Linked DNA regions of Homo sapiens: region 1 is linked to region 2. Evidence: promoter capture Hi-C in 16 types of primary human blood cells and fetal thymus (Javierre and others, 2016). All regions are on one chromosome and are shown on one strand. Each heading gives the region's core, a stretch centred on a gene start or on the middle of the fragment in contact. The rest is flanking DNA. Distances are from core to core; before and after follow the strand shown. Region 1 overlaps FMNL2 (formin like 2). Region 2 holds the start of CACNB4 (calcium voltage-gated channel auxiliary subunit beta 4).

Evidence for each region. Contacts are between HindIII fragments. The CHiCAGO score rates a contact against its expected background, and 5 or more counts as called.
Region 1: a contact is called between a fragment that was not itself captured here and the fragment with the promoter of CACNB4 in region 2, in 3 of 17 cell types (fetal thymus, M1 macrophages and naive CD4 T cells). The highest score is 6.2, in fetal thymus.

The regions. Positions count from the first base shown.
Region 1 is chr2:152,614,606-152,620,960 of GRCh38, forward strand. FMNL2 (formin like 2) reads left to right here. Exons shown (of 26, transcript NM_052905.4): 12 at 246-395; 13 at 2,486-2,587; 14 at 4,241-4,553; 15 at 4,904-5,113. Among named protein-coding and RNA genes, the nearest start is that of PRPF40A, 100 kb to the right of the region's middle. RefSeq lists an enhancer at 3,612-4,811. The HindIII fragment of the contact is 1,518 bases long and covers 2,119-3,636 here.
Region 2 is chr2:152,095,837-152,102,505 of GRCh38, forward strand. CACNB4 (calcium voltage-gated channel auxiliary subunit beta 4) reads right to left here and starts at 3,208. Exons shown (of 14, transcript NM_000726.5): 1 at 3,113-3,208; 2 at 2,494-2,577. The coding sequence starts at 3,175. RefSeq lists a silencer at 3,117-3,406. The HindIII fragment of the contact is 7,735 bases long and covers 1-6,669 here.

The DNA.
Region 1 (6,355 bases), core at 1,628-4,127, 520 kb after region 2:
GGTGGCGCGTGCCTGTAATCCCAGCTACTTGGGAGGCTGAGACACGAGAATCGCTTGAACCCAGGAGGTGAAGGTTGCAGTGAGCTGAAATCATACCATTCCACTCCAGCCTGGGTGACAGAGTGAAACTCCATCTCAAAACAAAACAAAACAAAACAAAAAACAAAAAAGACAGACTCTTAGGAAATGATGTTCTATTTCCATAGATGAGCTAACACCACGTTCTCTCCTATTCTGGTTTTTAGAAGCTGAAACACACTGAGAGTGACAAGCTTCAAGTCCAGATCCAGGCTTACCTGGACAATGTTTTTGATGTAGGAGCTCTACTGGAAGATGCTGAAACTAAGAATGCTGCCTTGGAGAGGGTGGAAGAACTGGAAGAAAACATTTCTCATGTAACTATATCTCAGAAAAGGAAAAATTGCTTACATTTCAGCTGGTTGCAAAGCAGAATTAATGTCAGCTTTTATGGTGGTAAATTTAAGGATTTGGAGTATAGGAATAGGCCATACCCTGCAAGAGAGAGCTATCAGAAGCTGTTCTGTGTTTTTTCCAAAAAGCAGATGTGTTATGTAAAATGAAATAGAATCTGTTGCTTTGCTTTAGCTCACTTACCTGCTCAGTTTCTGCTGAGGTGCATTTCCTGGCAGTCTTGCTTACAGGCTCAAGCAGAGTGGGGGTGTTTGATGATTGGCATTACGTAAATGATTAGAGGGAAATTAAATATGAGAATTTGGCCTGAGGCGAAGAGGTATCTTCTTATCAACTATGTCCACACAAACCCATGGACAGGATTAGCTGGTGTCTCTGTGATGCATGTCTGAACATTCCTGTCTTACGGTACTCAAATTCTTAATAGAGTCATTTCAACAATAGGCATTTTCAAGGACATCGGTGTGCTTTCTCATATATCCTGTTCTTTGAAGAATGTCCTCAGTATCGTTGTCAGCTCTATCACAGGACAGGGTCTCATTTTTCTTTGAGGGATTTTTCTTGCCATAGACTGATTTGAATATGACTCTAAGGGCCTTTAGAGATTATTTGTTCATTCATTAACCACATATTTCAGTAGTAAAAGAATTAACAGAAAAATGGTGCTTCTCAAAAACCCAAGCATTATGAAGACCAAATTCTTTTGGTGAGTCTGGTGAGCACTTTCCTTGATTATGAAATGAAGTGTCTCCTTTTGGAGGATTATTATTTTCTCCTTTGAACAGTTCATTTATTTTTCTCCACATGTTTTTTAAAGAGTGCTGCATATGCTCAGTTTCCTTCACCTTTCCCCATCACTGTGAAAATGGGTCTCTTCATGGCTGTGGGTAAGCCAAGTTGGTGAGCCAAAAACCCTCCCTTTAAAAGTGCCGCTATGACCCAGCTGGCATCCGCTTAAAAAGAGAATTTTACAGGCCCAGTATATCTTCCCTTAGAAGATTTGTGTTATATGCTGAACCCAATCAGTGTAAATCTCCACTCTTCCTCCTTACCTTGCCTCCCTGGTTTTCTTTACTTGTAATGAATTTAAAGGAGATGTTAGAAATCAGAAGTTGCTCAGTGTTAGAGCCCTATGTGAAAAGCAGCTGTTTAACACATGGCTCACCCTGTCTTTCTCCTGAAGCCTCAGCCAACATTGCATGACCATACTTACATGTCCACTTTTGTAGCAGCAATCTATTTGAATGGCCTCCCCCAAATAACTTTTATTATTATTATTATTTTTGTGGGTTTTTTTTTTTTTTTTTTTTGGAGATAGAGTCTTACTCTGTCACCCAGGCTGGAGTGCAGTGGCGCGATCTTGGTTCACTGCAACCTCTGCCTCCTGGGTTCAAGTGATTCTCCTGCCTCAGCCTCCCTGGTAGCTGGGATTACAGGTGTACTCCACCACACCTGGCTAATTTTTGTATTTTTTAGTAGAGATGGGGTTTCACCATGTTGGCCAGGCTGGTCTCAAACTCCTGACCTCAGGTGATCCGCCCACCTTGGCCTCCCAAAGTGCTGGGATTACAGGCGTGGCAACCAACTTTTATTACTTGCATAGTTTGGTCAAACCAAGCAGTAGTTGTTTTTCAACTGGCTACCTAGATTGAAAGAACCAAGTTTACTGTGTTACCAATTTTCAAAAGCTTTAGGCTGATGGCCCTTTCTTGGCATGGAGTGGGGGATGGAGGTGGACTTTCCCTCCTCTTTCTCCTTACTTTCCTCTACCCTTGCTAGCCCCTGCAGAAATGGAGGGAGGCACACTGTGTATGTTGAACACTAAGGAGCAGACATGTGGGTCTTATTAAGAATCATGTCTAAGTTATCAATTCCTGGTAGAAGCAAATATGTATTCAGAACCATATTATAAACATTACCATTTCCAGAAAACAACTTGCGGAACACATGCAGGGCCCTGGTCCCTAATAATCTTGGAGCTGCACTTTCTGAGAACTGAGGGCTGATCAAGATGATCCTGTATTGTGACAGCTTTCTTTTCAAAATTTTACAGTTATCTGAAAAACTGCAAGACACAGAGAATGAAGCCATGTCCAAGATTGTGGAACTGGAAAAGCAACTCATGCAGAGGAACAAGGAGCTGGATGTCGTTCGGGTAAGTGTAATGATGACAACTGCCCAGATGGGCACGGTAGGGAATGTACTCCAGCTTTCGTCCAGTGGAACGCAGAGTACCTTCATTTCAGAGGAATGCATTGATGCAGCATATTTATTGGAAACCTTTGAGAGGTGATGCTCAGTTGAAAACTACACATAGTCGGCGTTATGTATACACATGTGTGTGCAATCAGATACTGGGGGTTCAGTATTTCCTTATCACAGATTTTGGGAGCAACAGTGTTTTCCCATCTGGAGGAGGCTGAGTTAATTCTGTGGAACACCCATTTGGTTGGAAATAAAAACACAGCATGGATTTAATTCATGCCACTTATTTATTTTTATTAGGACTTGAGCTTCTTTGTATTTTTTTGCTTTGCTTCCACTCAAAACCAGATTTGGTGGTTGCTGTGTAAACAGTGAAATACAACACAGGCTAGGCTTAATGGCATTCACCAAAAAAAGGGAGGGGATGTGCAAAGCAAACCCAATCCATTTTATTATCAGCTAATCCCAGCTATTTTATTTGGCCTTAGTATTGTTTACCTTATGTGCCAGGTATTTATGGAGTGCCATCCCTGTGCTTGGAATTGTGCTGAACATAAGAACACCAAAATGCCTGGAGAGCTTTAAGGCAAATGGCTTGCCTTTACACCACTGCTAATGAAATTGCACCTTTTATGTGATGGTTATCGTGTCTGTGTGTGTCTGATATCCTGACATGTCCTACAGTTCAGTCCAGGAAATATATTTTCTGGCACGCCTTCGAGACAGAGTTGTAGCATATGGACTCAATTCAACTTCAGACTCTTAGATTATTAGTAATAGACAGGGTGTGAAGAATGTTTCCCTGCTTGCTGGAGGTTTGTGGTGAGAGATCGCTTGTACAAGGCCCAGCAAGGAAGTTCAGTTCCATAAAACCCTTTCACTAGAACCTCTATGGGCCCCCCCCTTATAAAAGGAACCAGGACAGTCTTTGAATTGAAAATTGTAACTTCTTTGTTTTCTGCTAAAAAGCTAGACAGAAATAAGTAATTAGTGAAGGGAAGCTTTGGCCTGTTTTGTTAACCGCATTACCGATGGGAAAATGTTACAACAATCGCTATCCTGAGCTTGGTCAAGGGGGCGTTGTGAGGGCCAGAGAAAGCCATTCAGAAACAGTCAGCCCCTGGTTACTCATGAGTAGATTATTCCATGCTTTGCAGATTTTTAATCCCAGTCTGATTTGTATCCAAGTCTGATTTAGGGCCCTTTTGTCTATTGTTAGCTGATATGTGTATCTAAGAGTTACAAATGAATGTTAAAATAAAAGGAAGGAAAACATGCACCACCAGAACACCCTCAGGAGATTCCAGAGTCAGCATTCCGGGTCATTTCTGCTCTGTTTCTTTCCACCTGCAGGGAAAATTGAGTTAGCTGCATTTATTAAATGGAAAGAACTTCATTACCAACAACAATAGCTAGAATATATTACATGCATTACTAGCATACAACTAATAATTAATGGGACTTTATAGGTTCTAGCTGAATTCCAAAGAATTCCCATTCATATGAGTATCTTTTTTTCTCTTTATCCTCAGTTTGCCAATCTGATGCTACTAAGTATGAATGTTATGTGAAGATAAACTCTTGACCTTGGACTTTATTGCAGGAAATCTACAAAGATGCAAATACTCAAGTTCACACATTAAGAAAAATGGTCAAAGAAAAAGAAGAAGCAATTCAAAGACAGTCTACCCTGGAAAAAAAGATTCATGAGCTAGAGAAACAAGGGACCATTAAAATTCAGAAGAAAGGGGATGGGGATATCGCCATACTGCCAGTTGTGGCTTCTGGCACATTGTCCATGGGGTCAGAAGTGGTAGCAGGTAACTCTGTGGGACCCACAATGGGGGCCGCTTCCTCAGGACCCTTGCCCCCTCCTCCACCACCACTGCCTCCCTCATCAGACACACCTGAAACAGGTAAGAAGCCTTGGCAGGAGGACTGAGGAAGTTTTGGAATATTTGTATTTCTTCTTTTGCCAACTGTCCACTTCTGTCCTTTGTCCGTTTTTGTTGGCATGTTCTTTAAGAATTGGTTTTCTTGAGTAGTTCTTAACTGTTTACATTTTGAGATTAAATTTATAAATCCTCATTTCACATATGTTGAAATATTTTTCCCACATGTCAATGAGGACATTTTTTGGTTTTTGAAAACAGTCCTTTGTCCTTTTAAGTGTGTTGTTTTCAGATGGCTTTATATGCACATGGCTTATTGCAGGAAAGCCATTCCCGTATTTTCAAAGTCCATCTGTTTCTTTTTTCTTTGCTAGTGCAAAATGGTCCAGTAACACCACCTATGCCACCGCCGCCGCCGCCCCCTCCTCCACCTCCTCCTCCCCCACCGCCCCCTCCGCCTCCTCCTCTCCCAGGCCCTGCAGCTGAGACTGTACCAGCTCCTCCCTTAGCACCTCCCCTTCCCTCTGCACCTCCGCTGCCTGGAACATCTTCACCCACAGTGGTTTTCAACTCAGGATTAGCAGGTAAGAGCACAGAATTCAAACCCAGGTACTCATATCAGAAATGCTGTCTTATCTCGGAGAGTTGAAGCTATTCTTTCAAAGTCCAGGTCTCTTGCAATGATGTGTATCTCTTCCTAGTATAAGAAATTCCTGCTGATGTAGCCGATAGAGGGAACATCATCACGCATGGGAGGCACTTTGCTCTGAGTAGTCTTTGTCACAACCACACCCCACAATGGGAGGTTCTGATCTCCTACACCATCTTCCTGCCTTCCACTGGCCCCACCGAGAGAATGGAAGAGAGACAAGCTACCTGCTTGAGGATCAGTGCATTTTTGTGGGTTCAGCAGATACTTTCTGGACACCTGTAGTATTCAAAGCTCAGTATTAGGCACAGACATTGAGTGCTTCTGGATCTTTTTTTTTTTAAATGGTATTTTTGATGTCATCTATAAAAGGGAAACATGCTTTTATGTGTAATTGCCTGACGTAGGCTTCCAGGCATGTCTTCTGAGCATTCGAGAACATCAGAATTTGCTAGAGTGGATTTAAACTTCAAGGAGGAAGTGCTGCCAACAGCCGTATTATCATGCCTTAAAATGCTGCCAAATAATTCATGTCCTCTTGCCAACCAGAAGATAGAAAACAGCATCCTCACCTCACCAGAAATAAAATGGGAGGTAGGGGTTAGAGCAGGAGGAAGAGTCACTCTAATGCCTTGAAATCTAAGCTCTTTGTTTTGACTCACGGAAACAAAGATGACGCTACGAGCCGTTTTCTCAGTCCTGAAGTGTTTCCCTGGCATCTGGAATTGCTCTAAGCTTTGCCATCCCTGTGACGTGGGGTAATTCTGCCTCCTCATTTACTTCAGCCTGTTCATGAGGTCTCTTATTTACAATAAAGAACTACCACTCTAATAGCCTCCATTTCCAAGGCTGTGATAGTTCTCAGAGCCTTTTGCCCAAAGTCTAAAAGCCAGTCTTAGCTGTAAAGATTTCCCAATCTCCATCCCTTCCAGGATCCCATCTGCAGCTCTGCCAGCCGGTCACTGGGGCTCATTCATCCCAATGACTGGAGCCCTTTTGGATGCCCCAGAGTCACCTAGAATAAATTCACTCCACATCAAATCCATGGTTTTACTTCCACCCCGACTTCTATATAAAACTGTCAGGGAAACAAGATTCCAGTTCACAGTAAGGTCCACAGTAAATCGGTGACTTATTTCTACCCTTCAAGATCTTCCCCGTCTACCACTTTCTTCTA
Region 2 (6,669 bases), core at 1,958-4,457:
ACAGTCGGGGTTTCACCATGCTACCAGGCTGGTTTGAAACTCCTGACCTCAAGTGATCCGCCCACCTCAGCCTCCCAAAGTGCTGGGATTACAGGCGTGAGCCACTGTGACCAGCCCAAGGCTCTGTTAACGTAAGCAGCTGTTATGCTTTCATAAAAAATATTTTTTGGCATTGGGGTGATTTCAATTTTATCCGAAAGTTATTGTTAAACTGCATTTGTAATCATTTTCCTTATCTCATCAAAGAAATGTAAATCCCTCAGTTATTTTTATTGTAGCCAATACAGAAGTCTGTATGATGTCATTTGAATGAGATCATGTGTAGTATACTCAGTGAGTTGTAAAGTGCTCATAAAAATTAAGTAGCCCGGGCATGGTGGCTCACGCCTGTAATCCCAGCACTTTGGGAGGATGAGGTGGGCAGATCACGAGGTCAGGAGATAAAGACCATCCTGGCTAACACGGTGAAACCCTGTCTCCACTAAAAATACAAAAAAGTTAGCCAGGCGTGATGGCGGGTGCCTGTAGTCTCAGCTACTCGGGAGGCTGAGGCAGGAGAATGGCGTGAACCCAGGAGGCAGAGCTTGCAGTAAGCAGAGACTGCGTCACTGCACCCCAGCCTGGGCGACAGAGCAAGACTCCGTCTGAAAAAAGAAAAAAATTAAGTACTATTTTTGTGCCGAAAAATAAGATTGTGTATATAATACAATTACAATTAACTCCTGAATTTAAATTAGACCATTTAATCAAACCAATGAATTCCCATTTCATAGATGAAATATATTTATTTAAAAAAATCTACTTTGCTTTAAATTATTCCCAAAATTATTTAGCATGCAATACTTTTAACATTTCTTAAGCCAGCACATAGCAGCACGCTTTACAAGAACTTATATATACATCATCTCAATCAGTTACGGGCATAAATTGAGAAAAGAGTAAGAATATTAGAATATTATTTTGTTTGTGCTTGGAAGGAAGAATAAAGCATTAGTGCAGTTATGTAGATGAACTCAAAAGTTTTAGTCAAACAGCTTATGGAAAGAACTGCTGTGTAATTAGTATTTCCAAGAATTTGCAACAATGAAACACCACTAAAAATAGGCACCTACAAAATAAACACCAGCAAGACCTCAAACAGTTGCATAACAGAAAAATGTTTTTAAGATAAACAATATGTTTGCCTTATCAAATACATAATCTAAATACTGCAAAGGGGATAGAATGCACTTTTAGAATGAATTCGGAATCCAAAATGCATTTATTTCCATAATGTACATGCTTAGTGCTCGCTGAATTAAATGGTAGTCAAAATTTCCGCTTCTGCAGAAAGTGAAATTCTGCATAATAAATATCATCTAAATATGCTTTATAGACCCTTTTAGGAGAGGTCTGAGTTCAATTTTGATATCAATTCCTCGTTGATATGTTTAAATTGATGATAATCACTAAAGAAACACCAGAGCTGCCATCATAGGTTAGAAAACACATTACACAATACTGAGTGACCTAGAGGGAAAAGAACTTCTCAAGGTCACTCCAGCAGCCCACAGGAAGACCTGGGATAAAAGCCTCTTGGTGCGATGACCAATGTCTTCCTAGGTCACCCGAAACCTAGGACACACCCCGACAATTTCTGTTCCAAAGAAAGATCAAGGTGACTCATTGCATGATCTCTCTAGCACCCAGCAGCCAGGGGTGGTTTCATTAACAGCACATGGACAGTTGGAAAACTGAGGACCAATTTCCTGTGCCAAGGTGAAAGGCACCTAAGCATTGAGCATTACCAGCGATCCGGAGATCCCGAGCACAGACAATTCGCACTAGAACCACGCAGGAGAAAGCAAGCACTAAGAAAACAAACACGAAGTGAAGGCGCACCCAGACCCGGAGCTGAGTGCTGGCCTTCGTTAATTCCTATTTAACCAGATACAGCTGTCTTTCCCTAACTAAGCGAATCCAAGAAGCGGTCCTAAAGTGAGAGTAAACTTTCTGCTCAGTGTCTTTCTTTTGACCGGAGCTTGACGATCTCTCCCAAGATCCAGACAGATAAGAGTATTCAAATTAGGACAAAACAGAAGAAACCACTAAATCTCAACTCGAATCAAACCAGGTCCCCGGCCCCGAGGGGTCTGGTTACTCTAGGTCGAGTTATACGAATTAAAGACATTTCTCCACGCACCAAAGATACAACCAGACATATTTCCAGCTCTTAAATTCAACGTCCCTGACTTAAGCCAGGTCCCCACCGAACTGTCCACACACATGCACAAACTAACTTCCCGGGGCGGTGCGGAGACGCCGGGACGCGAAGACGTCAAGAGCCCAGGCTAGAGGGAGAGGGACTGAGCCCGAGCACCGGCCGAGGCCGGGAAGAGACGCGCGCGGGCTTGACCCGCAGCTCCCGCACGTGTGGGCCACGGCCGGCTCCAGGACCCCCGCGCCGCGCGCTCGGCCTCCTCCCCATCCTGGTCTCCCGCCTCCTTCTCATACCTGTCTGAGGATGAAGCTGGTCGAAGTGGTGCTGCCATCGGATCTTTTCAACCTGCTCCTCCGGGTTGTGGTGCCTCGGGCCACCTGGACTCGACACACGGGGGCCAGAGAGAAGCCGGTGAGGACCGCAGCGCAGAGCGGGGCGACCACCCCCGGCTGGAGTCCGCCTCCGGACCCGCTCCCTGGGGTCCCCTAGAGCCCGCACCCAAGTCTCCTCCGCGACTCCCAAATACAGCCCCCACCCCCACCCACCCACTGCAAGCCTCGACTGCTGAAAAGATGCTCGAGAAGAGCAGCCCGCAAGCACCCACCACATCCATTAACAAAGACTCTCAGGGTGCGGGGTCCGAGTCCCCGGCATCCGCTGGGGGAGGCTGCGGGCTCCGGAGCGGGAGCGCAGAGACCCGAAGGAGGGTGAGGAGGAGGAGGAAGAGAAGGAGGAGAAAGAGGAGGAGCGGGAGGAGAAAGGGACGTGGAGGAGGGGTGGGGGGAGCGGGGCCGCCGACTCCCGGGACTGGGGCCCCGCACGCCCGGCACGAAGGCGGGGCGCGCTAGGGCGGCGGAGGAGGTGTGAGGAAGGAAGAGGAGGAAGAGGAGAAGGGGGAGGAGGGGGCGGTACCTGCGAGGTGGGGGAGTGCGGCCCGTCCGCGGTCCCGTTCTTGGCGTAGGAGGAGGAGGACATCGTTCAGAGCCGCCGCATGGCCAGCCCGTGTGCGGTGGGCGGAGGGGGCTGGCCCCCGAGGCTGGGCTGCGGACGGAGGGGGAGGGCGCAGGACTTCCCCACCCGGCTCCAGGACCCGCGCCGGCGCCCAGGCTCCCTGCCCGCACTTCGGAGAGCGCGGCACCTTAAAGGGACCGAGGCGCTTCCCCCGCGCTCGCGGCGGGGTCCCGGGGAGGGGGCTTCTCGGAAACTCGCCTACCCGAGCGGATTGGGAGAAGCGCTCTCCCACCTAGCAAGCGCTTTACATCAGAGCTTCCAGAGGATGAAGGGAGGGGGAAATCTGGGATGGGGGTGGCAAGATTAAAATAGTCTGCACAGTTTAAAATGAGACAAAGGTGGCACGGTTCATGAATCAGGACTTGGGGACGGAAGCTGGTGCAGTGTGGCGGGAATGGGAAGAACCGAGCGGGTGTGTGTGTGTGTGTTTGCTGCACTGGAATTTTAAAAGGGCAAGAGCAGAGCCACCTTCCGCGACTTCACTCATCAGCCTAATGTGTAAGGCATGGGGTTTTGTGGCTTGCTTTTCGTCCGTGTTTTTGTATTGCTTTGGCAATTCTGTCCTTAGAGCTGCGAGTCACACACATCCAGGCAGCTGTGAGAAACCCAGCCAGCCTGAGTCTGACGGGAGATGCTGCCCCGCCAAAGACCAGTATGTCCTACGGAGTTTTGAAGGTCATGTTAGACCTGCTAAGAAGCAAGAGTTGGTCACTGTGCCTCCCATTTCTATGCGAATGGATATTTTCAAGGGGGAGAAACTCATCCTTGCAACCATACACAACGTTTGCCATTGGTTTCCTCCTGTAAATACATACAAGAGATTAATTTGTGATCAAATTAAAAGAGAGGGATTGCGGAAAGGAAGAATAAGTGCGAGGTATTGACAGAGGAATAAGAAGAGGGAAGAAAAGTATATGCAAATTCAAAAATAAAGAGACTCCGTTTAAATTAAAATATACTTACTATCTCAAATCGCTAAATCAGCTTGCATTCTAGGACTTTATGTTTATGGACACAACTACCATGCTTGTTTTAATAATTGCTTGGCTTTATTGAGGTCCTGGTTATATCTTACCATCCACCAGACACTTCCTTTCCATTCCTAATCCCTTCACTTAATCCAAACCTCTGTAACAATCTTATAACTAATGTCCTTGCCTCCAGGCTTCCTGGTGCATGTGCACGTATGCACATGCACACATACACACGCAGAGATTTCATTCCATCTACACACTACAGGCAAAACCATTTTCCTAAAATATCTTGCCCAAGTCACTCTTCTCTAAGATAAAGTCCAAACTCCATGGTCCAACAACTCAGCCTCTCCTGCATTTCTGATCACTCTCCATCTCATTTCTCCATCTTGATCTCTCTATACAAACCTTCCAGCAAGCAGGCAGGTCTAGTCATCAATACCCAAGTATTCCAAATACAATCACATTTGAGCTCTTCTGCTTTGGAATGCCTCCTTGGAATATGCCCTCCCAACAACCTACACACCCGGCTGAATCCTACCTTTCTTCTAAATGGGACTCAGCTCACGCTTCCTCCACAGAAATCCTATCTGACTACTCCAGTCCCACATAATTCTTGTGCTTCTGAAAAACTGGAGCATGTATTCTCTGGGCACTTAGAATAGGCTGCCTTAGCTTATTAGTTTGTTAGTTCTGTTTTTGTGAAAATCTCCTAATTTTCAGAATTTTTAGCGGTTTATCTTCTATTCCTATACCTTCCATATAGTAGATACTCCATGAATTTATGGGGAATGGAGGTCTAACCATGCAGGACTCCCTACTTTAGTTACTGTCAACCCAATCCGTATTTAGTTCTGAGCCATTTTCATAGTTGATACGTGTGTGCATATTAAATTACTATGTGAGCACTGGACTTTGAATTGTGTGGTTTTCCACTGTCCACATTCTCACTGACTTTAAGTTATTGAAACAGAACCCACAGAGGCATAACAACATGAGAAGCCCTGTACACCCAGCTCAAAGCAAAACTGGTGAAAATTATATGTTTTATATATAAGCAACCATTTAAATTTCTAAAAATGGTCCTAAAGGTGCACAACAAATGAAGGAACATTTATTCAAGAAAACCTACTGAAACCCAGTAAGAAAAGTGAGCTTGAGGTATTTGAACCAAGACCTACTCACTCTTTTCATGCTTCCAACTCAGAGAGGGCTCCACGCTATACTGGTGCAGCCAAGAACACAGGGCTCCCTCACCCTTCAGCTCCCAGTTGGAGGGTCAGCTTCCTAGGAGGGACAAAACATCAGCATTTGTCATCCTCCCCGCAGCTACCTGTTGTTGAGACTAAGTTCTAAGCAAGTATGGCAGAGGTGGGGGCTCCCTTCTTCTGCCCAGTTGTACCTGGAGGCTGTACCTTGGCCACAGCAGCACTGAGTGTACTTGGGCCTTGATCACCTTTGCTTCTGGCTCATCGAGAAAGAAGTCAGGAAACGTGGGACTGCTTTGAGTGCTTCTGCCAGAAACATTCAGCATCTAACATGGTGATGTCACTCAGAGAGAGGTGCATCATTGTCCCTACCTCTGACACCAGAGTGGAAAAAATGATGTTGAACCCTGACCTTACATCAAGGATCCCCAACCCCCAGGCCACAGACTAGTACCAGTCTGTGGCCTGTTAGGAACTGGGCCACACAGCAGGGAGTGAGCGGTGGGGCAAGTGAGCATTATGGCCTGAGCTCCGCCTCTTGTCAGATCAGGGGTGGCATTACATTCTCATAGGAGTGCAAACTCTATTGTGAACTGCACATGCACGGGATCTAGGTTGTGGGCTTCTTATGAGAATCTAATGCCTGATTATCTGTCACTATCTCCCCTCACCCCCAGATGAGACCATCTAGTTACAGGAAAACAAGCTCAAGTCTCCCACTGATTCTACATTATGGTGAGTATGTAATAATAATAGAAATAAAGTGCACAATAAATGTAATGTGCTTGAATCATCCCCAAACCATCCTCCATCCCCGTCCCATAGAAAATTGATCTTCCATGAAACCAATCCCTAGTGCCAAAAAGGCTGGGGATTGCTGCCTTATATCATATACAAAAATTAACTCAAAATTAATCAAAGACTTAAAAGAGTTAAAAATATAAAACTATTAGAAGATAAGGGTAAATCTTCATGACCTTAGATTTGGCAATAAATTCTTAGACATGACACCAAAAGCATGAGTAGGAAAAGAAAAAAATGTTAGACAGGCATGGTGGTGCGTGTCTGTGGTCCCAGCTAACCAAGAAGCTGAGGTGGGAGGATTGCTTAAGCCCAGGAGGTCGAGGCTGCAGTGAGCTGTGACACGTCACTGTACTCCAGCCTGGGCACCACAGTGAGACTCCATCTCCGGCTCAAGCAATACCTCAGTCTTCTGAGTAGCTGAGACCACAGGTGGGCACTACCATGCCTAGCTAATTTTTTATTTTTTATAGAA